Regions from separate parts of the Homo sapiens genome. Here all the other regions are linked to region 4. Evidence: promoter capture Hi-C in 16 types of primary human blood cells and fetal thymus (Javierre and others, 2016). All regions are on one chromosome and are shown on one strand. Each heading gives the region's core, a stretch centred on a gene start or on the middle of the fragment in contact. The rest is flanking DNA. Distances are from core to core; before and after follow the strand shown. Region 1 overlaps EPB41L5 (erythrocyte membrane protein band 4.1 like 5). Region 2 overlaps EPB41L5 (erythrocyte membrane protein band 4.1 like 5). Region 3 overlaps EPB41L5 (erythrocyte membrane protein band 4.1 like 5). Region 4 holds the start of TMEM177 (transmembrane protein 177).

What was found. Contacts are between HindIII fragments. The CHiCAGO score rates a contact against its expected background, and 5 or more counts as called.
Region 1: a contact is called between a fragment that was not itself captured here and the fragment with the promoter of TMEM177 in region 4, in 3 of 17 cell types (non-activated CD4 T cells, total CD4 T cells and total CD8 T cells). The highest score is 7.6, in non-activated CD4 T cells.
Region 2: a fragment that was not itself captured here is called in contact with the fragment with the promoter of TMEM177 in region 4 in 9 of 17 cell types (total CD8 T cells, naive CD8 T cells, naive CD4 T cells and 6 more); the score reaches 11.1 in total CD8 T cells.
Region 3: a contact is called between a fragment that was not itself captured here and the fragment with the promoter of TMEM177 in region 4, in 1 of 17 cell types (activated CD4 T cells). The highest score is 5.5, in activated CD4 T cells.

The regions. Positions count from the first base shown.
Region 1 is chr2:120,115,839-120,119,633 of GRCh38, forward strand. All of the region lies in intron 16 of EPB41L5 (erythrocyte membrane protein band 4.1 like 5), which reads left to right. Among named protein-coding and RNA genes, the nearest start is that of EPB41L5, 100 kb to the left of the region's middle. The HindIII fragment of the contact is 948 bases long and covers 1,119-2,066 here.
Region 2 is chr2:120,167,372-120,171,475 of GRCh38, forward strand. EPB41L5 (erythrocyte membrane protein band 4.1 like 5) reads left to right here. Exons shown (of 25, transcript NM_020909.4): 23 at 95-136; 24 at 506-636. It overlaps LOC105373582 (a long non-coding RNA gene), which reads right to left. Exons shown (of 2, transcript XR_007087216.1): 1 at 3,286-4,104; 2 at 1-673. Among named protein-coding and RNA genes, the nearest start is that of TMEM185B, 54 kb to the right of the region's middle. The HindIII fragment of the contact is 872 bases long and covers 1,508-2,379 here.
Region 3 is chr2:120,094,940-120,099,002 of GRCh38, forward strand. The region is part of intron 14 of EPB41L5 (erythrocyte membrane protein band 4.1 like 5); the gene reads left to right. Among named protein-coding and RNA genes, the nearest start is that of EPB41L5, 84 kb to the left of the region's middle. The HindIII fragment of the contact is 538 bases long and covers 2,271-2,808 here.
Region 4 is chr2:119,677,537-119,681,575 of GRCh38, forward strand. TMEM177 (transmembrane protein 177) reads left to right here and starts at 1,665. Exons shown (of 2, transcript NM_030577.3): 1 at 1,665-1,740; 2 at 3,296-4,039. The coding sequence starts at 3,318. RefSeq lists a silencer at 1,512-1,741. The HindIII fragment of the contact is 6,463 bases long and covers 1-4,039 here.

The DNA.
Region 1 (3,795 bases), core at 343-2,842, 440 kb after region 4:
TTGCACTGTCACCCAGGCTGGAGTGCAGTGGCACGATCTCAACTCACTGCAACCTCTGCCTCCGAGGTTCAGGCGATTCTCATACCTCATCCTCCTAAGTAGCTGGGATTATAGGAATGCACCACCACACTCAGCTAATTTTTTGTATTTTTAGTAGAGACAGGGTTTTGCCATGTTGGTCATGCTGGTCTTGAACTTCTGGCCTCAAGTGACCTGCCCGCCTCAGCCTCCCAAAGTGCTGGGATTACAGGTATGAGCCATACTGCCCAGCCTACAATTAACATTTTAATTTAAAACAATCTAGTTTGGATTATTTGGACATTAAATACCAATTTAATGTCAGTAGTACATGTAAACTTTGCTTCTATAGAGCTTTGTCTCCCACTTTGTGCTGTTTTTCTCTTACAGAATATGTCTCTGTGCATTGTATGCCCATCAACATAGATTTAAAATTTAGAAAAAACATTTTTCCAGTATTCTCATCATTTCATCCAGCTTTCACAATGATTCTGCAGTGCGCTTTCCTTTTCCTATATGATTGAAGGAGGTAATTGAGTCTTCTGCACCAATCTGGTTCTTAACCTCAAATTTAGGAAGATTAGGAAAAGCCTTATACTGGAAACTTAAACATGAAAATAATGTTTCTTGCCAAAAGAAGGAAAATTTTCTTAAAAGTAATGATGAATGGCGTTTTGTTTTTTGAGATAGGGTCTTGCTCTCTCTTCCAGTCTGGAGTGCAGTGGTTTGATCATGGCTCACTGCAGCCTCAATCTCCTAGACTCAAGTAATCTCACTTCAGCCTCCCAAGTAGCTAGGACTATAGGCACATGCTACCACACCTGGCTAATTTTTTTATTTTTTTTTATTTTTTGTAGAGATACAGTCTCCTCTGTTGCTCAGGCTAGTCTTGAACTCCTGAGCTCAAGTGATCCTCCCACCTCAGCCTCCCAAAGTGTTGGGATTATAGGCATGAGCCACTATATCTACCTAAATGTAGTAAGTCTTTATGCTACTACTGAAAAAAAGAATGAATGTCAAAATACACTAGTGTGTTTGTGAAAACAGTACCAACTGGGAATTTGCGTAATATAAAAATCCAAAAGGATTTTTCCATTTAAAGCTTCTACTAGAAAATAATAAAAACATCTTGGATGTTACCCTTGAAAATATTTTTCATTTGCCCTTAATTTTAAAAATTTATTGTGAAATAAATATATAGAGAAAAGTTTATAAAAAATACAGTTCCAGTTTGAGTATCTTTCTTCAGGTTAAGAAATAGAAATTACCACTTCTTTAGAAGTTCTTCTGGTCTCTTAATCCAAATTCATGCCAACACTCTAACTCCCAAGTGAGTTGCCAGGGTTCATTGCCTTCCCCAATGCCTTATTCCTATCTCCCTTCTTCCCTGCGAGAAACCTGGCTTCTATTTGGTTAATATGTGCTAAACAGTTTCAGAATTGCTATACCCATGCCACTGTCAACAACAAATCTAAGTGACATTTAGTATTTCTTCATGGTTCTCCTTTTTAGACAGAGTATATAGTTGAAGTATTGCACTTCAAATTTACTTGGATTAGTACCCTTTCCTCCTCAGTGTGATTATGGTATTTATTTGGTCGTAGATGAATTTTAATTTTTCTAGATATTGCCTGACTCTCCTTCATTGAGGATTCTGCATTTGACCAGCAGAGTATGAGAGTGCTTCTACCTCTCATAGCCTCACTGACAAAGGATCAAGAAAGACTGGGATTTTTGCCAATCTGAAAAACAATATATGGTATCTAAGTGTGTGTTTTTTTCCTTAGAGCTTTATCGAGGTACACTTGGTGCAATAAAGTGCATCTTTAAAGTGTTTTGAGTTTGGACACAGACCCGTGAAACCAACACCATAATCAAGATTCATGATGAATATGTTCCACGTAGTTTTCATTTAAATCCCTCTCAGTAGCATATTTGTATGTTTAAGAGCCATTTGCATTTTTTCCATAAATTGCTTGTTCCTCTCCCCCTGCCCCCTCCCCATTTTTAAACAAGGCTGTTGGCCTTTTTCTTCTCTACTTTTAAGAAGCTTTTTTGTGGATAATTGGGATATTAACTCTGTGTATTTAAGCTGCAAAAATATATTTTCAGTTTTTCACTGTTTACTTTTAGTATTTTTCTGTGCGAAAGTTTTAAAAGTTTTTATATAAGCAGATTGATCCGTTTTTTCTTTAATAGTTTCTGGAATTTAATAGAGTTTTCCTCACTGCTACATTTTAGAGGAATTCAGCTATCCTTGCCTCCAGCACTGTATGGGTTAATTTTCTTACATTTGAATCTCAGATCCATTTTGAAACTTGGTTTAAGATAGGAGTAATGAAATCTAATTTTGTTATTTTCCAGATGGCTTTCCAATTATGTCAACCTCACTTTTCAAGAAATTCATCATGGTGCTGAGGCAACTGTATGTCCACATAGAAAAGAATAAAATTGTACCCCCGTCTCAGACCTAAATTTATTTATTTATTTATTTTTTCTTTAACTTTTATTTTAAGCTCAGGGGTACATGTGCAGAACGTGCAGGTTTGTTTACATAGGTAAATGTGTGCCATGGTGTTTTGCTGCACAGATCATACCATCACCTGGGTATTAAGCCAGCATCCATTAGCTATTCTTCCTGATGCTTTCCCTCCCCCACACCCCCGACAGGCCCCAGTGTGTGTTGTTCCCCCTTCCTTGTGTCCGTGTGTTTGCATCATTCAGCTCCCAGTTGTAAGTGAGAACATGTTTGGTTTTCTGTTCCTACATTAGTTTAATGGCTTCCAGTTCTATCCATGTCCCTGCAAAGGACGTGATCTCATTCCTTTTTATGACTGCGTAGTATTCCATGGTGTAAATGTGCAACATTTTCTTTATCCAGTCTGTCATTTATGGGCATTTAGATTGATTCCATGTCTTAGGTGCATAGTGCTGTGATGGACATATGCATGCATGTATTTCTACAATGGAAAGATATTCTTTTGGGTATATGCCCAGTAATGGGATCAGTGGGTCAAATGGTATTTCTGCCTCTAGGTCTTTGAGGAATTGCCACACTGTCTTCCACAGTGGTTGAACTAATTTACATTCCCACCAACAGTGTAAAACATTCCTTTTTCTCCACAACCTCACCAGCATCTGTTGTTTTTTGACTTTTTAATAATAGCCTTTCTCCATGGTGTGAGATGGTATCTCATTGTGGTTTTGATTTGCATTTCTCTAATGATCAGTGATGTTGAGATTTTTTTTTTATGTTTGTTGGCCGCATGTATGTCTTTTGAAAAGTGTCTGTTCATGTCCTTTGCCCACTTTTTAATGTGCTTTTTTTCTTGTAAATTTGTTTAAGTTCCTTGTAGCCTCTGGATATTACCTTTGTCAGATAGATATATTGCAAAAATCTTCTCCCATTCTGTAAGTTGTCTGTTCATTCTGCTGACAGTTTTTTTTTGTTTGTCTTTGTTTTTGTTTTTTGTTTTTGCTGTACAGAAGCTCTTTAGTTTAATTAGATCCCATTTGTCAATTTTTGCTTTTGTTGCAGTTGCTTTTGGCATTTTCATCATGAAATCTTTGCCAATGCCTCTGTCGTGAATGGTATTGCCTTGATTTTCTTCTAGGGTTTTTATAGTTTTCGGTTTTACATTTGAGTCTTTAATCCATCTTGAGTTAATTTTTGTATATGGTATAAGGAAGGGGTCCAGTTTCAGTTTTCTGCCTATAGCTAGGCAGTTATCCCAGCACTATTTATGAAATATGGAGTCCTTTCTCCATTTCTTTCTC
Region 2 (4,104 bases), core at 694-3,193, 490 kb after region 4:
AATGGATTTCATAATAGATGTAAGTAAGTATTATAAGTATGAAAATAAGTCAGTCTTTCCAAAAAGTAAATACATACATATAAAATTATTTCAGGTGTCTTCCACATCCATGATCACACCCCGGTGGATTGTTCCGGTAAGTTCATGTTATTTGTGATTTTTCTTCTGGCTACCCTTTCAGGGTAAGGCCTAAAGGATTACTAGGTTCTTTGTTTTTCCTTAAAAACATGAGGGTTGTTATCAAAGCCTTGTTAACTGAACTTAACTTAATGGCTTCAAGCTAGTGGCTTACCCTTTCTGGTTGTAAATGTTTGTCAGGATGCTGGCAGAAACAAAAGTAAAAGTCTCAGATGAAGAATAGTTAAGAAAAACAAAACAAACAGTCATAATTATCAAAACCATCTTCGTTAATCTCATAGTCATTAGTGAAGCTTGATTTGGAGCTGAAGTGCTGACCAGGCAGGTATTGTTACCCTGTATTTAGTTGTGTGTGTATCTCCCACAGCAGAGTGGTGCCATGTCTAATGGACTTGCGGGATGTGAAATGCTTTTGACAGGGAAGGAGGGACATGGTAATAAAGATGGAATCTCACTGATCTCTCCCCCAGCGCCATTCTTGGTAGATGCTGTGACCAGGTGAGAAAATTATTTCTCATTTGCAGTTCTTAGGCATCTGTTAGGAAGAAAAAAATAATAAAACTTATTATCTCTAAAGCAGCAATGTCAATTCTTCCCTAACTGAACTATATTGAAATGGGGCAAATCTTTTTTCTGTTTGTTATTTAGTGTAGTGGCTTTTTCTTGTCAGTAGCAATTTTCTACAAAACTGTATTAGCGTTTCTTTATCAAGTCTTTGCTAAAGATGTTAACAGGCTTATCTTTGTAATAGTTGTTTTAAAGTCAATTTGTATTGTTTCCCTTTACGCTTTACTATTTATTATGATTATGCCTACTGTAATAGTGATGAATGATGGTGCCCGTCAACACAGGTGAAGAGGTGCAGTATAAGTGGGTAAGTTAGGATACTCCTAGGGTGAGAGCCCTGAGATGCCTTTACCAATACATGTTGTGAGCTCATTTCAAGGCGTTGCTTGCTACAGACAGAAACTAGACTCAAAAACTAGAGCTTTTTGTTCAGCATCTGGTTCTTCAACTTTTGATTTGCTAGAACCATAACTGCACCTGTTTTACAAAAGATTTAGAATTGCCTTCACTCCTACCTCAGACCTTTTTTCTGAATATATCCCACATTTCACATATCCTCCTTGAAAATGTGGGTCGGTTGAAATACATGCTTTCCTAATTAGAGAAAGGTAGGATGAATTATTAGAGATCATTAACTTGAAAGAAATTCAGTTTAATTTCAAAATTGTCTCCACAGTGTTCAAAGTAGCATATTACTCAGCAAACAAACACTTATTGAATGTCTGTGATGTACCAGGCATTGACTGATATCTGACACTAAAGATAACAGTGAACAAGACAGATGAGAGACCTACATTTGGGAAGCTTACATCTAGTAAAAGAGTGCTTTATACAAATGTAATGGATTATTTTTCTAAGCATTTGTATGCCTAATAATGATCACTGTAAAAATAGAGCTGCACACAGAGAACCCGACGGTAATGCTTTGTAATTGAATTTACACAATAAAATGTGAGCTCTTAAGGACTTTCACATTAAAAATTACAGATGAAAGCAGAGCTTATCTCTTTCTTCCTAGAACTCATGGAAAGGAGTAATAAAGGGCTTAAAGACATAAAAATTACAAATAAACCAATGGAACAGAATAGAGTCTGGAAACAAACTCATATGTAATACAGTTTTCTGGTTTATGAAAAAAATGATGATGCAATGCTGTAAGGAAAGAATGGTCTTTCTTTTAGTAAATCAGCTGGACAGATTAGTTGTCCCTGTGGGGAAAAAATAATAATCTTGACCCAACTCCATACCATTCACAAAAATCCATTCTGGATGGATTGCAGATCTAAATATGAAACATCAGATAATAAACTTATAGAAGAAAACATGAGTGAACTTACTTGTGACCTTAGAATAGACAAAGATCTTTTAAACAGCTCACAAGGAGCTTTAGTCTTACAGGAAAAAAATCACTTGGATTATATCAAGAAATTTTGTTCATCAAAAAATGTAATTTCAAGATATTATGGAAGGGGAAGCCACAGAATAGGAGAAAACATTTGTTCTCCATCCCTCCTTCTGTCTCTCTCTCCCTCTCTCACCCCCTTCCCTTCTCCTTCCTCCGCAACCTCAGTCTTAACTTTGTATGGCAAAGGACCCACTCATATCTAGAATTTATAAAGAGTTCCTCCAAATAAGTAAGCTAAAGATGATAGCATAATAGAAAAATGGGCAAAAAGCTTGAATAGGCAGTTCACAAACCAATATCCAAATGGCCAGTAAGCATTCTAGACAGTGTGCAACTTGATTAGTCCGTGGGGAATGTAAATTCAAACTACCATGTCACAGTGCTACATTATCACCAGAATGGCTAAAATGAAAGACACATAGTACCAAGTTTTGGTGAAGATATGGGGCAACTGAAACTCTGTAAATTGGAGTAACCACATTGGAAATAGGTTTGGCAACATCTACTAAAGCTGAACATATTCAGTGATTCTATTTTTATATAAATACCCAATGGAACTGTGAATATATGTCCATCAAAAGACATGTACAAGAATTTTTATAGCACCTATATTCATAATAGTCCAAACTGAAAACCTTCCAACTGCACATTAGCAGTTGACTAGATAAATATTAGAAAAGAGCAGTGAAAATTAATAACTACAACTAAAATGTAGCAGTATAGATGAATCACATAAACATAATTGTATTAATTGTCTACTTCTGTGCAACAACTTACCACAAAACTTAGCAGCTTCAAACAATACACACTTATAATCTCATTTTCTGTGGCTCAGGAATCTGGATGTAGCTGAGCTGGGTTCTCTGCTTCAGGGTCTCTCACAGGCTACAGTCAAATATTGGCAAAGGCCAGGTTTTCATCTGAAGGCTCAATGGAAGGAGAGGCACCAGCCAGAGCTCTTGGCAGGATTCAGGATCTGAAGACCTGTTAGACTAAGGAACTCAGTTCCTAGCTGGTGATTGCCAAGAAGCTGCCCTCAGTCCTTACCATGTGGGCCTCTCCAAAGTAGTTCCTTACTTTATTCTAGCATGCAAACTGAGAAAGCAGTAGAGTCTGCTAGCAAGACAGAAGTCACAATCTTGTATAGTCTAATCACAGAAATAACATCCTTTTACCTTTGCTATATTCTGTTGTTGGTTAAAGTAAGTCACAAGTCCTTTCCACACCCAAGGGCTAGAGATTACATAGGAGTGTGAACAGCTGGAGATGGAGATCTTTGGGGTTCATCTTGGAGTTTCTCCACTGTAATAAGGATAAACAAAATCAAGTTCAAACAGGAGCACAACTCTATAATGGTTACCCTTGATGTGCTAGTGAATAGAAGAGAGCCCAAAAGCAGCTTTGGGAGTGCTAGTAGTGTTCCGTTTCATATTCTACATGCTGATTACAGAGGTGTATTCAATTTGCAAAAAGTTGTTCAAGCTGTAAACTCATGCCTTATGTGCTTTAATATATAGATGTTATAGTAATTTTTAAAAATGATGACTGGGTCCCACCCATCTCCACAGATTTAGATTTACTTTGCAGCGTTCTCTGTGTGATACTGTGTTTCAAAGGCATCAAATCATGAGGACAAAGAACAGGAAAGGAGACATCAGCAATTAAGAGACCTCAACAAGTTTTGGGAAGCAGCTAAATGATAAGTGGTAACCAGTTTAGCAGAGTGGAGTAAACTAAAATCTAAGCCTGAATAGGGGAGGGAGTAGAAACAAAATAAAAAGCAAGCCAGTTCACACTGCAGAACCCTGAAAAGGCAACGAAATTGTAGGTACCAGATACTTGTGAAGATGGGGTACAAAGTGGAGCTGAGAATATGGGGATTGGTTGAAAGTATTTATGCCCATTTCACTCATCTGCCATCCCACTACCCTTGCCCATTTTAGCATAATTCTGAAGTTTTCCCTCGGGAGGAGCCAGGCCAGAGAGGCTCTGGA
Region 3 (4,063 bases), core at 1,290-3,789, 420 kb after region 4:
GAGACTTTTTTTATGGCCCCTCCATATGAGTCACCCAGGAAAATAGTTTATGTGTACTTAAGAAGAGTATATATTTTGCTGTTTCTGAGTGGAGTGTTTCATAGATGTCTGTTAGTTTATTGTGTTCAGATCTTCTGTTTCATTGTTCATCTTTTGCCTAGTTTTAATCCGTTATTGAGAGTGGAGTATTGTAGTCTACAACTATTGTCTATTTCTTCCTTCAGTTCTTTCTGTTTTTGTTTCATGTATGTTGTGGATTTGGGGTAGGTATGTATGTGTTGTTAATTGTTATATTATCCTGATGGACTGTTCCTTTTTATCTCTAGTAACTTTTGTTTTAAAGTTGATTTTATTTGATGTAAATATTGCCAGTCCAGTTTTCATATGGTTGCTTTTCCATGATATAACCTTTTCATCAAGTCTGGAAGTTTTTACCCATTATTTCTCTAGATATTCTTTATGCTGTCTTTCTCTTCTCCTTCTGGAATTCTCATTAACATGTAAGTTGTTACACTTGATGGTGTCCTACAGGTCTCTGAGTCTGTTCGCTTCTCTTTATACTTTTTTTTTTTTAGACTACATAATCTCACTTGACCTGTCCTCAAGCTTACTGATTTTTTTTTTTAAACCACTTAAATGTTTGTTTCACTGGCGAGAGTATCTACTTTTGTTTTCAAATTACCATTCTGAAGGTCTTGCTTCTGATGGCTCCATTAATTAAATTTAATTAATTAATTAATTTTTTTTGAGACGGAGTCTTGCTCTATCGCTCAGGTTGGAGTGCAGTGGCATGATCTTGGCTCACTGCAACCTCCGCCTCCCAGGTTCAAGCGATTCTCCTGCCTCAGCCTCCCAAGTAGCTGGGATTACAGGCACGCACCACCATGCCCACCTAATTTTTTGGATTTTTAGTAGAGACAGGATTTCACCATGTTGGCCAGGCTGGTTTCGAACTCTTGACCTCATGTGATCCGCCTGTCTCGGCCTCCCAAAGTGCTAGGATTACAGGTGTGAACCACCACGCCCAGCCGGCTCCATTAATTTTAATATTACTTATTACAATGAGGCTATATCTGTGGTCTCATATAATGCTTAATAATTGGTATGTATTAGAGTCTCCTAGAATGCCTGTTAAAGATAAGATTCAGACCATACCCACAAATCTAATTTATTTTTGAATTTGTCTGTACTCTTATATGGCAGTTGTCTCACTAGACTTTTTTCAAAAGAAGTTGGTTATTTTTGGATATTGAGTATCATCAGCCTCACCTTGAAATGTCCATTTTTTTTTCACTTTGAAAGCTGTTAAAGCCAGTCCGTGATTAGTGATTGACTATAATAGCACTCCGCTTTCTGAACAAGGACTCCCCTCAAGTTTCTTTAGCTGTCAATAGGCTGTTGAAAATAAATAAATAAATATAACAGGGAGGAAGTGAAATTTCTGTGAAACTCTCTCCGTGAGATTTTTATTAGGTAAAAAAACAACATTTTGTGCCTTTTCTGTGCTGTATACTTTTATTTTTCTTGGATTTATTTATAAGCTATGTTTTTCAGAAAAGTAGAGTAATGGCTGGGAGCAGTGGCTCATGCCTGTAATCCTAACACTTTGGGAGGCCAAGGCAGGCAGATCACCTGAGGTCAGGAGTTTGAGACCAGCCAGACCAACGTGGCAAGACCCCATCTCTACTAAAAATACAAAAATCAGCTGGGCGTGGTGGTGCGCGCCTGTAATCCCAGCTACTCTGGAGGCTGAGACAGGAGAATTGCTTTAACCCTGGAGTCGGAGGTTGCACTGAGCCGAGACTGCGCCACTGCACTCTAGCCCGGGTGATAGAGCAAGACTCCATCTCAAATAATAAAAAGAAAAAGAAAAATGGAGTAATGTTTGAGATTTTTCTGTACCTTTGAAGCTATTTTGTTTATTTAATGTATTATGTCTTGCTTTCCTGAAAAGGAGGCTGGGATATGGAATATTAGAGCTTAAAGTAAAAAGTGAGTACCTGCTAAAGTTAGCAGAAATGTAAACAAAGTATTCAGCAATGGTACGTAGTTGAAAAATTAAGGCTTTTATTTGCAAAATAGGAGGTTTTTCTTTAAGATGTTCTGAAACACATTTCTGGTAAAATATGAATATATATAGTGCCTGTTTTGGAATTATGATTAATTTAACTTTAATGGCTAAATGTTGGTGTCTCTTCATTAGTGATGCTTTTGACTCTGGAAAACATAGCAGAAATGGTATATTTAAGGAATGGTTTTTTTTTAGACTAAGCTTTTAGAAATGAGATGTAGTGGGGGACCCAACTCTCCTGAAGGTTATTGAGCACCACCCATCGCAGTGCTTGAGAAAACCTGAGCTCAGACTGGCATGTTGTATGCCCTTTCACTCTTGCCCTTCCATTTCTGTTTGTATGAACAGTTTTGCTCTATTGAACCATGGAAAACAGTACTGTTTGAAAAGGCACAACTATTTGACCTGAAAATCTTCTCGACCTTGTATTCTGCAGTTTTGTAAAATGCCCATTTGAATAACAGATTTTTTAATTGGCTAATGTCAGTCATTTTTCTTGTACTGTTTTGGCTCTTAACTATTCTTGTGAGTCATGAATACTATAAAGTATTTAAGAGGTGATGTTTTAAAGGATAGTTGACATTTCAATTACTAGTACTTCTTATACAGGCTTAATATGCAGTCTTGAAGACAGGAAAGAGGAAAAGAAAAAATGGTAGAGGAAATCAAATGAGTAGAAGGTATACTATGTAAAAGCAAAAATGGTCAGTTATTGTATGTAGTCCTTTAAAAAGGGAAGCTTGAACTAGGTTAGTAATGAGAAATAATTCAGTAATTCCTTCATATTCATGGAAGTGAAAGAATGTATATAATTATCAGAAAATAATGCTTTCTGTATTTCATACAATTTAAAACAGGAAGCTATGGTTCAATTAACATCACTTATAAATATTTTGTTCTCATGTTAATCTTATTGATCACCTACTAAAGTTATTTCTAGTTAAAGGAAAAGCTTCAGAGAATAACCAAGGAACTGTGGACTAGTAGGTCTAACTTCTGTACCAAGCAGGCTGGGTGAGATTTCATTAAGACTTAGGATCATGGGTATTCTAGGAAGAGCAACATGGTTAGTAAAAAGAAATTGTGCCTGATGGGTATAATCTTTAAAATTGCCATGGCAGTGGATCTGCACTAAATTGTTTGTTTTGTGTGTGTGTGTGTGTGTGTGTGTGTGTGTGTTTTGGTGGGGTGGGGTTTTGTTGTTGTTGTTGTTTTTTGAGACAGGGTCTTGCCCTGTCACCCAGGCTGCAATGCAGTGGCATCATCATGGCTCACTGTAGCCTCAACCTCCTGGGATCAGGCAGTCCTCCTGCCTCAGCCTCCAAAGTATCTGAGACTACTACAGGCACGCACCCTCACACGTAGCTATTTTTTAATTTTTTGTAGAGTTGGAGGTCTGGCTCTGTTGCCCAGGCTGGTCTCAAAGTCCTAGGCTCAGGCAGTCCTCCTGCCTCGGCCCCTGAGAGTGCTAGGATTACAGGCATGAGCCACCATGCCTCACCAATAGTATTTCTTTGAAAGGTATTTTGTTGTTGTTGTAATCACTGTTATTTGTATTTTGCTAATATTAACTCATTTAGTTGTTCTAACAGTCTCATGCAAATGAGCAACCCAAGGTGTACAGAATAGACCTAGTGACACAGCTTGGCTTTGAACCCAGACAGTGATAGTGCAAGTTATAGTGACTCAACTTGTAATTGATCTGTAGTTCTTAAAAAAATAGAATATAAAATATGTTCACTCTTCATTCCCCAGCGTTTTAGCAGGGCCTCTCTTCATTCTTAGGTTCTTAACTGGTTGGCTTTCATTATCAGGTAGCGGTTTTTTGCTCTCACCTTGTTAGAAAGGCTTCTGGATCCTCTATTCAGAGGTTGTGTTTGAGAGCTTTGCCTGTTTCCTCTTAGTAGAATGACATGTTGGCTGGTTATAAAATAATATTCTTGATTACTGCTATGGGAGGCCTTTGCCAACCTGATAATTGGTAGTGATTTA
Region 4 (4,039 bases), core at 415-2,914:
AGCGATTCTCCCGTCTCAGCCTCCTGAATAGCTAGGATTATAGGCGTGTGCCACCATGCCTGGCTAATTTTTGTATTTTAGTAGAGACGGAGTTTCACCATGTTGGCCAGGCTGGTCTTGAACTCCTGACCTCAGGTGATCTGCCCTCCTTGGCCTCCCAAAGTGCCAGGATTACAGGCGTAAGCCACCGCGCCCAGCCCAAGGTGTCTTTTTTACAGTTAGTTTATTTGGTTCAGGATCCCAATAAAAGTCACATATTGCATTTAACTGCAATGACTCTCAAGTCTCTTTTCTTTTGAGTCCCCCTCCTTCCCTGTTTATGCCATTGATTTGTTGGATAAACCACGTCATTTGCCCTGTAGAATGTCCCACATTCTGGCTTTGGCTGAGGTCACATTGCACTATTTACATACAAACAACTGAGCAGCCAAAATTGGGGGGGGGGGCTCAGAAACAGAACAGACTTTAATAATAATAGCTAATGGCTAGGCGGCACAAACCGTGAGGCACAGGTTACATATACACCAACTCATTTTATCACACAGCTAGTAAGGGGTGGAGCCCGGCTTTAACCCTAGGCAGTCTGTTTTCACCCTCTGTAAAGGATTGGGCATGGCTGTGTTCCAAGAAAACTTTATTTACAAAAGCAGGTGGAGAGCTGGATTTGGTGCACAGATTAGATGATCCCTCATCTACCTCACAGAGCAGCTGGAAAGGAGAAATGACAGATGGCACGCTGCTCTGTGGACTGTACAGTGTGAAGCACCTGGGAGGAGCTTGGGGGGCAGCGAACATGGTAATAAACATAAAGCTCAGAGCTCCCCGCCAAGGGTGAGCGCTTCCAGACGGAGAAGTACACGGGCCGGCCAGTCAGATGGGCATGGGTTCTGATGGGGGCCCTGCCATAGGCCGCCTGGTGACCCACGCGGGGCTGCCGTTCCTTCGGGGGTTCAACGGCATGATCAAAGACACCGGGATGTGTGTGTGTGTGTGTGTGTGTGTGTGTGATGATCAAAGACACCGGGGTGGGTGTGTGTGTGTGTGTGTGTCATGATCAAAGACACCAGGGTATGTGTGTGTGTGTGTGTGTGTGTGGCATGATCAAAGACACCGGGGTGTGTGTGTGTGTGTGTGTGGCATGATCAAAGACACCGGGGTGTGTGTGTGTGTGTGTGTGTGTGACGGAGTCTCGCTCTGTCGCCCAGGTTGGAGTGCAGTGGCGTATTCTCGGCTCACTGCAACCTCTGCCTCCCAGGTTCAAGCGATTCTCCTGCCTCAGCCTCCCCAGCAGCTGGGGACTACAGGCGTGCGCCACCACGCCCAGCTAATTTTTGTATTAATCAAAGACGCATTTCAACGCAGAGGAGGAAGTGCTAGCGGACCCACCCCAAGGTGCACAGTTAGAGAAGGAGCCTCTGCGGCGGCCGGAGCCCCCCACGGACATCCCCTTGAGGCCCCCCCAGCCACACCCCCAAGAGTCCCGCCCCCAGACCCGTCGAGCGAGCTCCCCTCCCTGAAATCCTCGCCCCGAGATCTCCGGCCGGCGAGCTCCGCCCCCTGAAGTCCCCATCCCAAGATCCGGGGCCGGCGAGCTCCGCCTCCCGAAGTCCCCGCCCCCAGATCCCCGGCCGGCGTGCTTTGCGGCCGCCCTGCCGCGCGCACATGTAGGCGTTCCGAGCGGCGGCGGAGGTGAGCGCACGGACGAGCGGGAGGGACCCTTCTCCGGCCTGATGCGACCCGGTAACGCGTTCAGACTGCGGAGTAGCCTAGGGGCCCAGAGTGGAAGCGTAGCGAGGACCCCTCTGCGGGGCTCCTGCAGCCCCTCCTCCCCCAGCCACCGGCGGGCTGCATGGTACTGTGTTCTAGGCCCACCCCGCAGCGCGATGGCCCTAGGGACGTTGGACTTTGGTCCAGACCTTTCCTTTCTTAGCCTCACTTTCCGCATTGGGAAAAAAAAAAAGCCCGAATGATAATGATTCTTATAGGAGTTCTTGATTAAGATAGGCCAAGCGGTACCCTGCGTTTTTGTTTGCGGCAACTCATTCGTTGCTCATTAAGCACTTTTCACGGACAGGAATACAGTAAGTTTCAATCAAAGTGAAATAATTGTGAATTTTTACTGACGTATTCACGGATGAAGTGATAGGATGCCCGGGGATGTTTCAAAATAAACCAGTTGGACGGAAGTGTGGTGGAAAGAGAAATCAAACAAGATTGGCCATGAGTTGATGGGATTGAAGTTGATGGATGTACTATTTTGTCTACTTTGGTATATGCTTGTAATTTGGCATAACAAGTTTTCTAAAACAAAAAGTTTGCTGTGGACACCTGACTATGCCTGTGTTAGCTTGCTAGAGCTGCCATGCCGAAGTACCGGAGACTGGGTGGCCCAACCAGCAGAAATTTGTCCTCTGGGAGTTATGGAGGCTGGAAGTTCAAGACCAGGGTGTTAACAGGGTTGGTGTCTTCTGAGACCTCCCTTCTTGGCTTGTAGGTGGTAGCCTTTTCCCTGGATCCTCACATGATCTTCCTGCTGTGCCTGTTTGCATCCTAATCTCTTCTTATAAGTACACCAGTCAAATTGGATTAGGATCCATACTGATGGCCTCATTTTATCTTAATTATCTCCTTAAAGACCCTGTCTCCAAATACAGCCACAGTCTGAGGTACTGGGGGTTAGGACTTAAATATATGAACTGGGGAGGAGGAGGAGACACAGTGCAGCCCATAACACTGTCACTTCACTAGCTTAGGATTTTGGCCATTTAAGTTTTCACAGCTTTGAAATAGGGTTAGCTGTAGTAATTAGGTCATGGGGTTGTGAGGGTTCAATCGGTAAGAGTGCTCAGAACTGAGTCTAGCATATAGTAAGCACTCAATAAATTGAACACGTTTTTCCTTATAAATTAGTAATCATAGGGCTTTACCATGGGATGAGTGGAATGAGGCAGTTGGAGTGCCGTGCCCAGCGATGGGAATAAAAGTCATTACAGCCATTATTATAAGGAATATCTGCTGCTGTGCCAGACACTAAATGTTTTATGTATGTTTATTCATGTGCTCATCACCGCCACCCTAGAGGTGGGCCATTACGACACACCTGTTTGGCACATGGGGAAATTGACGCACAGAGACGGAGCTGGGATTTGAACACAGGCACTCTGGCTCTAGAGCCCACACTCTTCACCACTATGCTGTGTTACTTTGGTTTAAAAAGGTGGTGTGGACCCTGGAGGATGTTCAGTCTGCAGGCTGACCCAGGGAAACTGGCTGACTTCTCTTTTTCTTGGCCCAGATTGTCCGCAGTGACTACACTCATGGCAGGTCCCCTGTGGCGGACCGCAGCATTTGTGCAGAGACACAGGACAGGCCTCTTGGTGGGTTCCTGTGCAGGCCTGTTTGGAGTTCCAATCTCGTACCACCTCTTCCCGGATCCCGTGGTCCAATGGCTCTACCAGTACTGGCCTCAGGGCCAGCCAGCTCCGCTCCCTCCACAGCTGCAGAGCCTCTTCCAAGAGGTGCTACAGGACATAGGTGTTCCTTCAGGCCATTGCTACAAGCCCTTCACCACCTTCACCTTCCAACCTGTGAGTGCAGGCTTCCCAAGACTCCCTGCTGGGGCTGTGGTGGGCATCCCTGCCAGTTTCTTGGGAGACCTAGTGATCAACACTAACCATCCCGTGGTCATACATGGGCATACAGTGGACTGGCGGAGCCCAGCAGGCGCCCGGCTGAGAGCTTCCCTGACCTTGTCCCGTGAAGCCCAGAAGTTCGCCTTGGCCAGGGAAGTGGTGTACCTGGAAAGCAGTACCACTGCCGTGCACGCCCTGCTGGCCCCAGCTTGCCTGGCAGGGACCTGGGCACTGGGCGTGGGTGCCAAGTACACCCTGGGGCTCCATGCAGGCCCCATGAATTTACGGGCTGCCTTCAGCTTGGTGGCAGCAGTGGCAGGCTTTGTGGCCTACGCCTTCTCCCAGGATTCTCTCACTCATGCCGTGGAGTCCTGGCTGGACCGCCGCACGGCCTCCCTCTCTGCAGC